2 separate regions of the Homo sapiens genome follow, and region 1 is linked to region 2. The links are contacts of gene promoters, found by promoter capture Hi-C in blood cells and fetal thymus (Javierre and others, 2016). All regions are on one chromosome and are shown on one strand. The core of a region is centred on a gene start or on the middle of the fragment in contact, and the rest is flanking DNA. Distances in the headings are between cores, read along the strand shown. Region 1 overlaps ABCA8 (ATP binding cassette subfamily A member 8). Region 2 holds the start of ABCA6 (ATP binding cassette subfamily A member 6).

Region 1 (5,095 bases), core at 2,078-4,577, 240 kb before region 2:
TTTTGGCCATTGGATATCCCATAAAATTTCATGCAATATTTGTCCTTTGGATGTCAAGATTCTGCCTCTCTCCTGTGCTTCTTCCACTGTGATGCTTTCCCTTTCTGCTGCCTAATTCATCATATCTTTGTGTTTTTTTGCTTGCCTTTATACCTTAGATTTGCTTTTTAACGCATTGACTTAAAAAGAAAACCTATGGCAACTCTGATACTTACAGTGCTAAAAGAGCTTTTCTTTCATGCTTTAACTTTAACAAGCGAACCCTTGCAATTGCGCAGATTTGCTGTCGCCAGAGAGCCACACCACCTATTGTCTTTCTCATCTTGTTAAGTGAAGAGAGGACTTGTTCCATCTCAACAAGCCTTTCAGTGTCGTCAGCTTTTTCCGCTTGTACTTCTCCCAAAATAGCAATGTCTGCAAAACATAAAATAAGCAACTCATATGTACTTTATTGAGCTTACTATAGAGATTGGCTCTGCTAAGCATCTCATGATTAGACTCTTCCGCGTTACTATAGGTATAACGTGGTTTTGCTGGTTACTGCCTTAAAATACAGAAATAGAAGAAATATTTATTTCTTGAACAAAAGGGATAGAAAGGAGACCTTAGGTAATTTGGATACAGACAATACATTACAGAGGTCAAGATAAATAGGCAAGGTCATCACAGTGGTTAGAAATGACATGGAAAGTCAGTAAAGGAAACAAATATCTTACATGTTCAATGAAGCTACAAATTGACATGCTCTGAACAGGGAGTAAACTGTAAATGGCAAGCTACAAACTGGGAGTTAGCTATAAATTGTTACTGCAGAGATTTCAAAACTATTCAGTTTTGAATAGTTTCTGAGACTGCATTCATTTGTGTGTTCTCTATAATCTCTGGATACCCAGGATGCTGTCCATTGTATAATGCTAAAATAAGCCTAATATCAAACCTCAAAAAGCACACACCCGTAAATGTATAAGTACAGTGACAGGACACAAAACACACTGTGAATGAAGATATAAGGATCTTAAGATAGTGGTCAAAAGTCCATTAAAAAAATTAGCCGGGCGTGGTGGTGGGCACCTGTAGTCGCAGCTACTCGGGAAGCTGAGGCAGGAGAATGGCGTGAACCCGGGAGGCAGAGCTTGCAGTGAGCCGAGATCGTGCCACTGCACTCCAGCCTGGGTGACAGAGCGAGACTCCATCTCAAAAAAAAGAAATAATAATAATAATAATAATAATAATAATAATAATAATAATAATAATAATTCAGGGATATTCTGCTTCTCGTTAGTTGCAAGAGACTGTCAACCTGTCTTACCAAGGGAATAAATATTAGTTATTTTTAATCCATCAGATGGGCGAGAGCACAAAGAAAGCTAAAAAACTAACATGTATAAAGGAAGGAAACATTTCTAGGGGGAGAAGATTCCTGTGGAAGCTTTCATCTTTAGGGACATGGCAGAAAAAGGAAAAAGGAGAAAACCACCATAGGTAGGTGAAAAGAAAGCAGCCCAGATTTAAAAATTCTGTGATTATATGTGGGCTGATATAACTGACTAGAATCATGGGGTACCTAAGTCACAAAACGAGTTTACAGCATCTACGAACTTTTTTTCGTGGAGCCTTTCCTAAGTGCATAGGAACAGTACAGCAGTAGCTGGGGGCAGATACTCAGAAAAACGGAGAGAGAAACACAAGAAGCTGCATAGTGTCTTGAGCAAGACATCATCAGGGTTCATGGGTCTTTCCTTTTGTGTAATACATGAGTCCACTAGGGTCCAGTCACTGAATGAGGAGTGGAGAGATGTATACTAACAAATAAATAAACAAAAAGTGATGACAGGCTGAAAATCAGTGAGATTAATCATTATTGAGATATTTGATAGCAGGGCTATAGAGAAATATATAGAATTTTTCCAGTGCTATAATTCAAAGTCACGTCTAAGGGAAAGACCTGATTCTACCTTTAAAACATTCGAAGCTGGGAGTGGACTGAATCTAATAAAACCTGTGCAAAAGCCCAGGCACTTGCCAAATACAAATTAGATCAGTTCTGCCATCCACATCAGTAGTCTGACAGAGGAAGAGTCATGCCATTTTCTGGCCATTGTTTACCTCAGTGTTCCTGTTTTGTTAAAGTAACATCCATGATAAAATACAAATTTCAAGACATATGAAGAAGCGGGGAAATATAACCCATAGGGAAGAGGAAAAAAAATCAGAGTCAGTTACTGATAACGGTCATCAGTCACACGGTCCACATGTTAGAATTAAAATACACAAGTTTAAAAATAACTATGATAAATATGTTACAAGATCTACTGGAAAATATGGACAATATTGAGAGCAGATGAGAAATAGTAAAGAACTGAAACTCTAAAAAAGAACAAATGAAAATGTTAGAATGAAAAAGTGCAGTATCAGAAATAGAGAGTTTATTATGTTCGGCTTCAAAACAGTCTGAACACAAGAGAATAAGTTATTTGTGACCTTGAAAATAGGTGGATAGATAGTGTCCAATTTCTAACATAAAGAAAAAAAAAAGAAAAACCTGACACCAGAGAATCTGATATCTGTGGAACAGTACAATATGTCTAATTAAGACTCTCTTCTTTATTGCTGGCCTACAGGAATTTAATAGTTTCATTTTAAAGTATTGTTTGGGGTTCTTAAGTGTTTTAGATCTGTGGGTTCATGTTTTATATTAATTTATGATTTAGAATAAATGTTTTATCTGAAATTGCCCTTAGAAGCCTAGAGCTAATATGAGTGCAGTGAGCCTTGGATGTAGAAAAATGGATTATTTTTAACTACAAAGCAATGTTGACAGGGATGCGTTTCATTTTTACACAAGCTTGTCTAAGAAGAGCCTTAATCATGAACCCCACATTTTGTAATCACATCTTTGGAACAGTGTGTTCTTGAAATATGTGCTTTTACATAATAATTTTCATGCATTTTATTTACCCGATTCATTAATTGTAGATTTTCCTTCTAGCTTCAGGAATACTTCATTCAAAGTTGTCATGGAAACACCATAATTCTCAATTCCTAGGTCAGGATAGCTATCAAGATCCTTGTAAAGTTCTAAAGAATACATATACAGCAGTGAATTAAAACAAGAATCACAAGTGAACTGAAGACAATTTTTCAAACTAATAAGCACAAATCTATGAAACTATACTTGTGATATGTCAAAAACATTTGAAAATTAACATTTCATAATAGATCATCTTATTCTGCAAATTCTATATATTATTTTCTATTTTACATCATGTGTTACAACCCAAATATTACTTTGTCAAACATTAATTTATATTCATTTGCATTTCTATTAAAGTTTAATCTTAGTTTTTTCTGACTTCCTTTTAAAATTTAATTAATTGTGAGACTCTGGGTTTTTCAACTCTAAGCCTAATTAATTGAAAAGTCTTTTCTAGAGAACAGATATAAATGGGAGCCATTTATGTTCTAACTGACAAAAGGAAAGGAATTAATTTTTTGAGAATTAATTGGATGGTGTAGAATCTTCTGTAGTTTAGAAAATATTTGTTAAAGAGAAGACATAGAATATAAACCATTAAAAAATTTTCTGTTTCTAACAATGGAAGAAAAAATTCACAAGACCTAACAGGCAGAGAATGTGGAACTGAATCAGGGAATTTTCCTGGAATTGTGACAGTGATTATTCGCTCTAGCAATTTTATATCTATTCATTCTTTAGTTCGTTCACCAAAATATACTTACGCATCTGTCATTGTTCATGAAGCAGTGAACAGTGCCCCTGCCTGCATGGATTTGAATTACAGTGGTTAAATCAAGCTTAAATAAAAACCTAATTCTAATACTAGGGTGATTACAGAAGTCCTGAGGCTTCCATCTGGAGCTCCTGCTTGGGCAAAAGGATAGGTTAAAAGCTTTTTGTCTTGACTAGAATACCTCATACAGAAAGGTAGAAAAGAAGTAAGATTTAAGCTAATAATGAGTATTATGCATCATTCTTCATTCCACCTAAAACGTCTACAAATTTTCTTTAAATTATAATTACTGTTAAAAAGTACTAATCAGAATTTGCGTAACACTTTCCTGATGATTCTAAGGAATGCTTGTGTTGTCACCATAAAATGTGTATTTGAATGAATGTATATGTCTTTGTTAACCACATATACAGCAAGGTTAATTGTTTCAACCACTAATGTGGGCCCTTATAGTGCCCCATTGTTAAGGAACAAGTTCCCTGAACAACAAACATAGTTAGTAAACTTTTATGCGTTAGCCTGAAAAACCCAAAGTTATTGCAAAAGTCTCACCGAGACAGATAGCCACATCACAGGGCTGTTTAATGTAGTGCATAAGCCAGAGGTTTTCAACCATTTGGGTTTGTGTACATTTATGAATACTAGAATATTATGTTACACACTACTAGGGAAGAAGGACTAAAAGAAGCCCTCTAAAATGCCCAGGCATTACAATACAACTATTAGAATGTAATTCTATTTCCCACTATACAGAAAATAATTCAGTTATTGTACTATTCTTTTGATTATGTTTCAGTACCTGAGCATACTGTAAGACATTGATAAATGTTAGTTGTAATGATAATAATTATGATGATGATGACTATTATTCACATATTTTATTTCACAGTGTTCATGCACATTACCTGGAAATTTATTTGTTCTTTCTAAGGGTAATGTATAAATAAGTTTTCCTTCGCTTTTGGCTGATAATTTGGCATCAGGGATGTGCTGTTTAACAAGTGATGTTATGTTTTCCTCAACACATATTTCATTTAACTGCAAGCTGGCATTCAGAAAAAAAAAAAAAGACATATGTTACTCGACATAGTCTCCAATAGCAAGAAAATAATTAACTAGTCTCTATAGGACAAAGAAAATCAATTAAAATCTAATGCCAGAAATAGGTCAGACAAACACAAAATAAGAGGACAAAAACCCAAGAAATAAGAGGACAAAAACCCAGCCAAATCATATAAATGTGATGGACAAAAGAAAAGAATGAGCTAATGAGAGTTACTGGTGAGGTTACTCAGGAGTAGTGCCCAGAGAAGTTTCATATTGATTGAAGCTCCTGAAGAGAGGGT
Region 2 (5,098 bases), core at 1,360-3,859:
GGATATGAAAAGACACTTCTCAAAAGAAGACATTTATGCAGCCAAAAGACACATGAAAAAATGCTCATCATCACTGGCCATCAGAGAAATGCAAATCAAAACCACAATGAGATACCATCTCACACCAGTTAGAATGGCAATCATTAAAAAGTCAAGAAACAACAGGCGCTGGAGAGGATGTGGAGAAATAGGAACACTTTTACACTGTTGGTGGGAATGTAAACTAGTTCAACCATTGTGGAAGTCAGTGTGGTGATTCCTCAGGGATCTAGAACTAGAAATACCATTTGACCCAGCCATCTCATTACTGGGTATATACCCAAAGGACTACAAATCATGCTGCTATAAAGACACATGCACATGTATGTTTACTGCGGCACTATTCACAATAGCAAACACTTGGAACCAACCCAAATGTCCGACAATGATAGACTGGATTAAGAAAATGTGACACATATACACCATGGAATACTATGCAGCCATAAAAAATGATGAGTTCATGTCCTTTGTAGGGACATGGATGAAATTGGAAATCATCATTCTCAGTAAACTATTGCAAGGACAAAAAACCAAACACCGCATGTTCTCACTCATAGATGGCAATTGAACAATGAGAACACATGGACACAGGAAGGGGAACATCACACTCTGGGGCCTGTTGTGGGATGGGGGGAGGGGGGAGGGATAGCATTAGGAGATATACCTAATGCTAAATGGCGAGTTAATGGGTGCAGCACACCAGCATGGCACATGTATATGTATGTAACTAACCTGCACATTGTGCACATGTACCCTAAAACTTAAAGTATAATAATAATAAAAAAATAAAAAATAAAAAAATAAACATTTGCTGTGTTAAGCCACTGAGATTTGGGCTAGTCATCTGTGATTAGCCCACCTGCTTGATGCAAACTGACTTTCAGTGGTGTTAGTTGATCATAATTCTTAAAAACAATTTTTGTGTAGAAAATTCATGTCCTTGAAAATAAATCCACAAAATTAAAATGTCTCCATTTCTTCTGACAACATTTTTTTTGTACTTCTTGGCTCTAAGTGTATAACATTTGGTAGTAGCTCTAGCAGTTGCTGTAATTTACCATATAATTAAATGTTCACTTAATCTCTTTTTATATGAGGAATTCTTTTAGTCTTTAATAATTTTATGTTATTCTTCAGTCTCTCAATTCAACAAATACAACTAGAGAGAACTGGTAAAATCAATAAATCCCATCTACTAATTAAAAGAGAACATAAGAGAATCAGTAGGTAATGAAACACTGTAAGAGTGCTAACCGTGGAAAGAGACAAATTTTTAAACATACCAATAAGCTCTCTCTTTTCATCCTCCATTTCTTAAGAAAATTCTTGCACAGAAGTGCTTTGGTTTGCTGATACACGCTTTTCTGTTTCATATTCATTTAGCCTATTCGCTGAAGGAGAAAGTAATCATGGTGGAACACAACCTAGAAAAAAATAAGTGTAATAAGAAAAACCTTGATCATAGTGTTGAGGAAAATATTTACTACCTTTAAAAAGTGTAAACATGAATTTAAAATATTATTTCAATAATTTATGACTGTAAAATTTCACCTCAAATATTTCACCTTAAGCTTTTTAGGGGAGTGGGTGATGGTGGGAAGGCAGAGTGATTATTATCACAATTTTGCAATAACTTGGAGTACTGAAATGGAAAAGCTGTAATTCAACTTCAGAACCTATAATTTCACATTTTTGGCCTTGTATGAGAGAACTTTAAGTACATGAATAGAGTGATTAAATTAATTTCATCCTGTTAATAGCCATTTCTTGTTCTTTACATTGAAACAGAAATCTCAGAGCTAATCAAATTAACATCAAAAGTCTGATTACTTAAATTTGTCTGAATAATAAATTACATCCACTAGATACAACCTCAATAAAGTGTTTTCTTGTAATTTTACCTTCAGATTGAATCAACTTTTATGAAAAGAGATAGGTTGTAAATCATAATCCAGGCTCAAACTACTTGAAACTTGATTCTGAGATACAGGAAGAATAAAGCAATTTCTCTCAATTTTCTGAATTCAGAAGTCCCTGAATAACTAATGAAACTACAAAATTAGCTTTAAAAGAAGCAAAAATAAATCACACGGGAAAGTAATTTTGCCCAAAGATTTGCAAATCAAGAAACACAATTTTTTTCGTTTCTGTAACCTCAAAATGAAATTCTTTCATATTTTTACATCAAAATATTCAGATAATTCTCCCTCAGCTAGCACAGAAGCAAATTTTTTCCATTTTTCTATGTCTTACTGTTACAATCTACACAATAAAAAGTGGTTGGGAAAAAGCAGAAAAATTTAGTCTTAGGTCTTTAACATAAAACACATAAGAATTGGGAAACATCTGAAAAATAGATTGATTTTAGCAGTGTCCACCCACATATTTGGCACAGCACAACAAAATAGAGCTTTACTTACTGTCAGGAAAATAATAAAAAGCACTCTAGAAACACTGTCAAAACCAGTTCTCTGTTTGTCTAGGTAACGATTACAACTTCTTTATTGCTGCTTCTTCATTTTTTCTTTAAATGGGTGCCTACTCCAGCAGCTCTTACACAGCCTGGTTTCTGAAAAGGGGTGTAGCCAGACCAAGCTGTACATGATGAACTTGTTTTGTTTTCTGTGTCTCTTTCTCCCTAAGCCAATTATTCTGCAAGGAAATGACTGTTCCGTGGTTGGTTGGGAATAAAATAAACTCTGTGTTTGTTCACTTAGCCTTTCAACTACAGGGATAAGGGGGAAAACGGTAAACAAGGAAAATGGAACTAGTTCTTCAGAAATGATGAGACCAAGATGGAGGCAGGAACAAGAAAGAGTAAAAACAATAACTAACCAAACAAAGCAGTTAAATTTGTATAAGAAATCTGTATCTATTTTCTTTTCACTACTGATGAATAAACACAACTGCCAGTTAGTTGTATATTTAACTAATTCAGACTAAGTTAGCAGAGTATTCTGGAGCTGATTTTTTTTCCTAATAAAGCTAAGCAATCCATAGTACGCCTTGGAGAAACTCCTAGGACAGACAAATGAAGAATTTTTAACAAATTTGTTGCTCCCACCCTCTTCACAGTGGATACAGGATTTCATAATACTTATGAACAAAATAAGCCAGTGGTTTGCCCAGGTCTACAAAACATATAAAAAGATTCAGATAAATTTTTGTGCACGAAGACTACAACAAACTGAAACATGTTTAATTCATATAGCATAGTCTGTCTCTCTCTGCTCTGTAAAGAGTTGCAAACTTTTCTTGACCTGCCACAGTGAATGGCAAAACAGGAAATCAAAGTCCATGAATTGGGAAATCTCAAATATTTGACACGGCTCCCAATCCACAGATGTTAATAATCATAAAGCTGAGAAACTTTCTGGAGCAAAGCAGATAATTTAAACAACAATGACAACTACAGCCATGATACTATTATGTGTATATGTGTGTGCCTGTGTGTATATATATAAAATGTATATATATATAATGTATACATATGTGTATATATATAATGTGTGTGTGTGTGTGTGTGTGTGTATATATATATATATAAAATTTCTCTCCTTGGCAATTACTTCTGTTTTTAAAAATAGTCAACAGTGAAATGCCACTTTTTTTACATTGAAAATTGGCACAAACACCGTTAATAAAGGTGTTCTAAAGTTCTCATGGGGTGTGGGAAGGGAGGTCATAAACACTTAACATTTTGTAATAGTAATATAACAAAACTCAAAGTTACTTTTAAACCACCTGGAATACAGTTAAGGCTTTTATGAATTTTTTTGTTGTTATCATTGTTTTAGACCCTTTATACTTTATTTTAGGAATCATTTTCATTCTGCCATTCTTATAATTGTATTAAAATTCACAGCTACAATATCAATGATAATTATTTAGATTAAATATATTTATTAGTTTCATTTCTTACCATTGTTTCTTGTGTATGCTTTCTTTTCCTTTTTCTTGACCTGTTTCCTCTTACTTATTTTCATTTTGGGAGGCTGTTTTCCTTACGTAATGTGACAATTTCCCCACAAATGGTGATCTAATATACTAAAGTGCCCAGCCTCCAGCTAGAAGGGCATGGAAGTGGTGGGTAAAATATATCCCCAAATTGAATTTCCAATATATAGTCAAATTCAAAAAAGGAAGAAAAAAGATGAAGAATGTAAACAACAATGGAAGAAACAAAAAAAGACAGAAAGACATGTTTCCAGGTGTTAAAACTGAAAAGGAATTTAAAGTTTCCCTTAAGTTGTGAGTGGCATTTCAGACACTCCATCAGTTCAAGGATATACTGGACTGAAAACCAAGCCTCAGGTGTTTTAATGACCCTCTGGCCTGAACTTGGTCCTTGAAAGGTTGGTAAGCTGGAGTTCATATTCCTGCAGGAATCCAGAGGGTTTATAGGACTGTCCGGTGCTAAAAACAGACTAGGAAAATTTCACCTACAACCTCAGGGGAGAGCAAAGCTGTATTCTCTGCCCAATTTCTGGAAGACAGACAGACAGATAGTAGATAGATAGATAGATAGATAGATAGATAGATAGATAGATAGATAGATAGATCGCCCATAGAAAATGAAACCACAAAGTATGTAGAGCATGTATCAGGTACAAGAGACAGGAGAAGGATCTGAATTTATTCTCCCAGTATAATAACCTGTCCAGAGATGTATTACAGGAGTTAGTGTAAACACTCTGGAGCCAAACTTGTGTCCAAATTCTGGCTCTGCCATGTACTAGCTGTGTGACCTTGCACAATCCATTTAACTCTCACGCCCTCAGGTTTTTTACCCCCCAAAAGTGGAAAAACAACAGTATTAATATATATATAAGGTTATTGTAGGGGTTAAATTCATCTATGTAAGTACATAGAAAAATGAGGGAAAATTGTAAAAGCTCAAAAAATGTTATTTGCTGTTACTTCCCCTCCTCCTCCTCCTCCTTCCTCCTCTTCCTCCCTCCTCCTCTTACTATCCTGGAGTGTCACAGAGAAAACACAAAAATTCCATAAAGATACATCCAAATTTCAGAACACAAAGCAACAGAGGTAAAAGAAATAT

What was found. Contacts are between HindIII fragments. The CHiCAGO score rates a contact against its expected background, and 5 or more counts as called.
Region 1: a contact is called between a fragment that was not itself captured here and the fragment with the promoter of ABCA6 in region 2, in 1 of 17 cell types (megakaryocytes). The highest score is 5.1, in megakaryocytes.

Annotation. Positions count from the first base shown.
Region 1 is chr17:68,903,086-68,908,180 of GRCh38, forward strand. It overlaps ABCA8 (ATP binding cassette subfamily A member 8), which reads right to left. Exons shown (of 40, transcript NM_001288985.2): 18 at 4,655-4,794; 19 at 2,959-3,078; 20 at 216-414. Among named protein-coding and RNA genes, the nearest start is that of ABCA8, 50 kb to the right of the region's middle. The HindIII fragment of the contact is 968 bases long and covers 2,844-3,811 here.
Region 2 is chr17:69,139,286-69,144,383 of GRCh38, forward strand. ABCA6 (ATP binding cassette subfamily A member 6) reads right to left here and starts at 2,610. Exons shown (of 39, transcript NM_080284.3): 1 at 2,460-2,610; 2 at 1,323-1,463. The coding sequence starts at 1,418. RefSeq lists a silencer at 2,503-2,797. The HindIII fragment of the contact is 11,176 bases long and covers 1,609-5,098 here.